2 separate regions of the Homo sapiens genome follow, and region 1 is linked to region 2. Evidence: promoter capture Hi-C in human tissues and cell types (Jung and others, 2019). All regions are on one chromosome and are shown on one strand. Each heading gives the region's core, a stretch centred on a gene start or on the middle of the fragment in contact. The rest is flanking DNA. Distances are from core to core; before and after follow the strand shown.

Evidence for each region. Contacts are between HindIII fragments. The study calls those that stand out against the background at their distance.
Region 1: a fragment that was not itself captured here is called in contact with the fragment with the promoter of LRRC69 in region 2 in 3 of the 25 tissues and cell types used here (H1 embryonic stem cells, hippocampus and psoas muscle).

The regions. Positions count from the first base shown.
Region 1 is chr8:90,951,521-90,954,874 of GRCh38, forward strand. The region is part of intron 12 of NECAB1 (N-terminal EF-hand calcium binding protein 1); the gene reads left to right. It also overlaps a transcript of LOC105375634 not described here. Among named protein-coding and RNA genes, the nearest start is that of C8orf88, 32 kb to the right of the region's middle. The HindIII fragment of the contact is 5,493 bases long and covers 1-3,354 here.
Region 2 is chr8:91,100,801-91,104,070 of GRCh38, forward strand. It overlaps LRRC69 (leucine rich repeat containing 69), which reads left to right and starts at 1,819. Exons shown (of 8, transcript NM_001129890.2): 1 at 1,819-2,044. The coding sequence starts at 1,862. The HindIII fragment of the contact is 5,612 bases long and covers 1-2,797 here.

The sequences.
Region 1 (3,354 bases), core at 5-2,504, 150 kb before region 2:
TAGTGTACTGGATACAATTTGTTCATCTACCCATCCAATTACTGATTAAATATATATTTACTGAGTATTAATATGTGCTAGGCATCAGGGTGTTTAGCCTAATTTACTGGTACTGATTGAGCTCCATTTCTGAACAAGCACTGTGTTGGGAGCTACAAAGGGTACAAACTAAAGGCAAAATCCCTACCCATAAAGTGCTTTCTGTCCAGCTTCACAGAAACGTTTGCAAAGACAAATTTTAGCAGAAAAAAAAAACCCAGCTAAGGGAATAAAATAGCTGTCACCATTAGAGATAATATGTGTTTTGTGGACTTGGAGAAGTGATTACTTCTTTAATAGTTTTTAAGAAAATGACTTGAGCTAGTCCTTAAAAGATGAGATGTGGAAAAGTAAAGATGGAGAGGAAGGGTCCTTTGGTAAATTTGGACATGAACAAATGCAAGAAGTGTGAATGTGCTTTATAGGTGCAAAGGTGTCACTAAGGCATAAAACTTACAGTACAAGTGGAGACAGACGAGAGAGTAAGAAGTGAGGTTGAGAATGTCATAATGAGGCTTTTGAACAGCAACCTGGAGTAATTTAAAGTTTTGAAAGGGATGGTGACATGTTCTAATCAGTAATAACTGACAGGAGGGAGAAAGGTGGATGTCATGGAGAGGAGAGAGATTAACCAATTAGGGCAATAATCTAGGCCAGGGAAGAAAAAAAAAAAAACCTGCACCAGGAAATAGCCAGAGTTTGGGACTCCAGTTGCAGATGTAATTTTCAGGAGTTAACCACAGCAAGATGATTGTTGAAGCCTGGGATTGGTAAGAAAGTATGTAGGTAAGAACAAAATATCTAAGAGAAGCTTGGGGAGATGCCTTTCTTTAAGCAGTGGAGTATCAAGGAAACCAAAAGAGTAAAATGCAAAGATACAGTGCTCCTGGGGATGAGTGGGGGATGTATAGTGTTATGATGTTATAAATGGGAGGAAGGCTGGGCGCGGTGGCTCACGCCTGTAATCCCAGCACTTTGGGAGGCTGAGGTGGGCGGATCACAAGGCCAGGAGCTCGAAACCAGCCTGACCAACATGGTGAAACCCCACCTCTACTAAAAATACAAAAAGTAGCTGGGCATGGTGGGGCATGCCTGTAATCCTAGCTGCTCAGGAGGCTGAGGCAGGAGAATTGCTTGAACCCAGGAGGCGGAGGGTTGCAGTGAGCCAAGATCGCACCACTGCACTCCAGACTGGGCGACAGAGCGAGACTCCATGTCAAAAAACAATAATAATAAAATTAAAATAAAATAAAATAAAATAGGGAGAAAAATCTTAGAATACAACTTCTGTAAATATGACTGCTGCAAGCTTTGTACATAGAATGCAGGAAAGTGAGATCCACATTTTATTTATCTTCACATTCCCTACCCTATTACAGTATTACTATAGTACAGTATATGGCAAGAAGAAATTATTTCCTAAATGAAGGAATGAATAGGACTTTGGCATCATCATAAATATATTGGTCTTCGGTCAAAATTTCCACGAAGTCCTGACACTTGTAATTTTTGTGTCTGTCATCACACCCATTTCCATCTCTCCCAAACCAATGTGGAAAGAAAGGAACAAAGCTTGTTCTTATTAGTGTCTTGAGTCTTTCCAGGACAGAAACAACCTGATCAAAAATAGAGTAGGAAAAGAGGATAGAACAGGAGGCTACTGAATTATCAGTGAGGGGGAAAATGCTATAGCAAGAATTGAAAATGTGGACTAATCTGATAGTTTTCTGACCCAACTTTATCATTATCTGGAATTATTTTCTAGACACTACTAGTGTCATTGGCACATATATTACTCTTTCTCTCTCAGAGCATTTCCTAATTTAGAAAGAAAAACTGACTACAGATAAAACTGGATCAATTCTTGTTCTGTGAATCCAGGCTCAATACAATTTAATGTCTTTTAATTGCTGCCCTATTTTGTATTAATTTCATGTTACATTTAATTTCAACAATGATTACTGGAATTTCGTAGAACAAGAGGAAAAGTTAGGCTTGATTTTTGACACAATTTTAAAACCTACAACATTTTGACATTTATTGGGACATCCCACCTTATTTTAAAGTTTTATCACTGTGACAGCAGGCCTATTCCAGTAAGCAGAAGCTAGCATATAAATATTATTTATGGGTTTTAATGGCCATATAACTTCTAACACTATTTTTAAAAACCAGTTTTGTACATTTTGTGTTATAATGGTTATGAAGATTAAAAATAAAAATAATTAGCTGGGCGCTATGGCTCACGCCTGTAATCCCAGCACTTTGGGAGGCGAAGGTGGGCAGATGACCTGAGGACAGGAGATCGAGACCAGTGGCCAATATGGTGAAATCCTCTCTTTACTAAAAAATACAAAAAATTAGCCAGGCATGGTGGTGCATACCTGTAATCCCAGCTACTTGGTAGGCTGATGCAGGAGACTCACTTGAACCTGGGAGGCAGAGGTTGCAGTGAACTGAGTTCGTGCCAGTGCACTCCAGCCTGGGTGACAGAACGAGACTGTCTCAAAATAAATAAATAAATAAATAAATAAATAAATAAATAAATAAATAAATAGCTGCACATATTTATACCTAAAATTAAAATCTGAAAGAAAAAAAGCAGATATTACATTTAAAAATGCAGTATGAATAAGTTTGTATTTCTAATTTTACTCACAAATTATGATTTCTGGTAAGATTGCTTTTTATGGTTAAGACTACTAAGTGGTTTACCTAAGATACATCTAAAGTAATTAAGCAACTAAGCCAGATTGCATCCAGATATGAAAATATACACTATAATATATTCCAATGACCTCTCAAGTATAAAATCATTCAAATGAAGCATACTGGAATATGGCAGCCCAAACCACCCAGACAAAAGGAGTATATAAACTTGGTCTGTGGAGCAGAATGTCCATTGGTAATAACAGAAAAACCTACGGTTATGGGAAAACAGGATACAAAAAAAAAGATCCTATTGCCAGCAAATTACTTGAACAGTTTTGAAAGCAAATTTCAATCCTTTCCATTTATCTGTTTCTTACAGCATTCCACCAATCATACATCTTTGCCATTGGTTTGTTTTCAGGATATCTATATTCACTGGGATAAACATTTATAATTTTAACATACAGATATACTAAAATATTATTTATAACCTACTTGCTTATACCCAATATTTATGAGATCCTATGTGTATAAATATATGGTATTTATAAATATCATATAGGTATAAATATATGTATAATAAATCACACATGTATTTATATGTATATTATATATTATACATAAGCTGCATATATTTATAAATATATGTATACATATGCATAT
Region 2 (3,270 bases), core at 569-3,068:
CCCTCCCTCTCCTTTTTGTCACCGTTTAAATCTTTTATTTGGAAATTTTTAAACATATGCAAAAATAACAAGACTAATATAATGAATGCTGATATGGTTTGGATTTGTGTTCCCTCCAAAATCTCATGTTCAATTATAATCCCCAGTGTTGGAGACTGGGCCTGGTGGGAGGTGATTAGATCCTGGGGGTGGAGTTCTCATGAATGCATTAGCATCCTCTCAGTGCTGTTTTCCTGCTAGTGAGTGAGTGAGTTATCCTGAGATCTAGTTGTTTATGTGTGTAGCACCTCCTTCCTATCTTCCTCCAGCTCTGGCCATGTGAAGTGCTGGCTCTCCCTTTGCCTTCCACCATTATTGTAGGCTTCCTTAGGGCTCCCCAGAAGCTGAGCAGATGCCAGCACCATGCTTCCTGTATAGCCTGCAGAACTGTGAGCCAATTAACCCTCTTTTCTTTATAAATTACCTAGTCTCAGGTATTTATAGCAGTGCGAGAATGGACAAATACAAACCCCTATGTGTCTATTACTCAGCATTAATAATTATCAACATTTTGTCAATCTTGTTTGATCAGTTTCTTCCACCCACTTTCCCCCCTAGATTATTTTTAAAAAAACTCAAGATATCATTTTATTTCACTTGAAAATTTCAGTATGCATTTCTGAATGTTAAGCACATTTAAAATAAATACTACCACCATACCATTTTCACATGTAACAGAATTAATTTCTCTCATCTAATAGCCGATGAACAAATTTCCCTGAGATGTTTGTATTCAACTGAGGATTCAAATACAGTCCAGACATTGCATTTAGCTGTTATTTGCCCTAAGTTTCACTTACATCGTAACAGTTTTCCCTCCTTTTTATTAATGTCTTTCATTTGTTGGTGAAACCTTGTGACATTGGACCAGGGACCAGTCCTGTAGAATCTTCCATGTTATAGATTTGACTGTTTCCCTATAATGAACTTAACTTATTCTCTAGTTCTGTTTTTTTGTAAATGGTAGTTAGATCTTGAAGCCATGATTAGATTCAGATTTAATTTTTGGACAGGAACATTTCATAGGTGGTGCTGCTGTGTACTTTTTAATTCATTACTTCATAAGGCTTATAATGTGATTGTCTCAATTTTATTGATGCTAAAATGATTAGTGGGTTATTAACCTGATCACTTGATTATAAAGTTCCTCATCAACCTTTCATCTAATACTTTCAGTCTCCAATTATGATTTTTGCATAGCTCCATTATTTTATTAGAATTTGCAAAAATTGTGATTATTCTAGTTATTTTGTCTTTCTCATTTATTAGTTTCAATTCTTGTGAATAAGAACTTTATTAACTATTAAGTTATATTTAAGTGCAGTTTGTACTGGAAAAGCAGAATAAATGCTTATATTTTTTCCTTTATCAATTTTCAGACTGAGTTGGTGCGCTAGTAATTCCCAGGGTGAGTAATGTTTCTTTTTAAAAAATGCCATTATGAACTCAGATTTTAATGTGTTTTGATATGTTTCAGTCTATTCTAGATTATTTCTTTCTGATCCTTAATATTTTCCATCTTAGACTAGTGGGAGCTCCTAGAAGTTCACTTCTGTGTCCTCATTAATCTCTGATAGCTTTAATATCGCAGGCATAAGCTATTTTAGGCTTACATTATACATTTCCTGCCCCAAACCTGGACCATCTACTTTCCTTTCGTATCTTTCACATAGGAAAATAATCTAATGCTTCCCCCCTTCAACATGGTGGATCTCAGAATGTTCTTGTTTCTATGACACACCAATTCTGTAATTAGAGGTTCTAAAGCTGTATAATAAAGAACTCTAATGGTTACCTTGTTTTCTACTTCTTTTCCAAGATCATGACTGAGAGATTGTTAATAAAAGCATTGAGTGGTGGTAAAAATACGAAGATCATTACTTTGAATGGGAAGAAGATGACAAAGATGCCCTCAGCATTAGGAAAACTGCCTGGCCTGAAGACTCTAGTCCTTCAGAATAACCTAATCCCCAAAGTGTGTCCAGAGTTATGCAACTTGACCCAGGTGAGGAACAGTGTTTTGCTGTTGTGGTTTGGTATTGAAGATGGAAAACAGGAAGAGAGAAAAAAGGGGTAAGAGACAGAACAATAACACTTCGATCTATGGAGACTTAGGTATCTGGAGACTTAATGTGGAGTGTTGCTGGAGAGGCATCAGAAGGCTTTCTCCCTTAGGGAATTCCATGTGGTAGGGAGAGATGTTTCAATTTATTCATGTGCTCTTTGGCCCACATCTGGAGTCAGGGGACTAGGTCTCTGCCACACTCATCTTTTTAGAGGCTGTCATCTGGAAAGGGGTTGGAAACCTGGATCTGGTCGTCTATCTTGGGGGCTTACATCTGGAAGTAGTTTTGAGGATCCAGGAGATGCTGTTCACCCTGGGGACTGTCCTGAAGCTTTTGCATTTAGAATGAAGAGACATTTAGGATGCAGCAAGGGAGTTCCTTTTCAATTTCCTAGGGCAGGCTGAAACTTTGAAATGGAGTGTTGGCAGGGAATAGGAAGGAGGGGACATTTATTTCTCCTGAAATAGTCTTTAAAGGAAGTTTAATATTTTAAATAAAAAATATTCTTTTTTAAAGAGGAATAGTTGACATGAATGAATCCCATATGCTTGTGTTAAACCTTTCTGCCTAACAATGTGAAACTCTAGCTGCCAAAAATCTTGAGGTTGAGAGAAGGCAAGGGATATTAACTTTGTAATTTTCTTTTTGTTCACTGCTGAATTGTCATCAGCACAGGAAGAACCTAGAAGCAGCTAAGGCGTTATAGCTCATTAATTTTGAATTTACAGTTCCAAAAAATAAATCTGTATTTTCTTACTTTCACCCTACCTCATTTCCTTTTACGTTTAAGAAATTGAGTTTGTAATCTGTAGTTGTATCTTTATAAGAAATAGGGTAACTTTTACAAAGTCCCCCTTCATTAGTAATTGCAGAAGGTATACTTGTAGTTACAAGACAACAAGGACTTGGAATTTTTTAATAGGAAAGAGGAGTTTCTTTGCAAAAGAATTTGGGACTTGACTGAGTCATGAACCTATTCTCTCCCTCTATTTGAATTTATTTCCATTAAAGTAGTACTAACCATTGGTTACCGAGAATTAAATATTACAAAAAGCTTATAGCAAGAAGCTATCTTCTATCCCACTTCCCCTCATCCTCAATCCCGATCTCCATATATAACCACTTTTAACTCATCTATTTTATTGATTTGTCTATTTTTGGCATC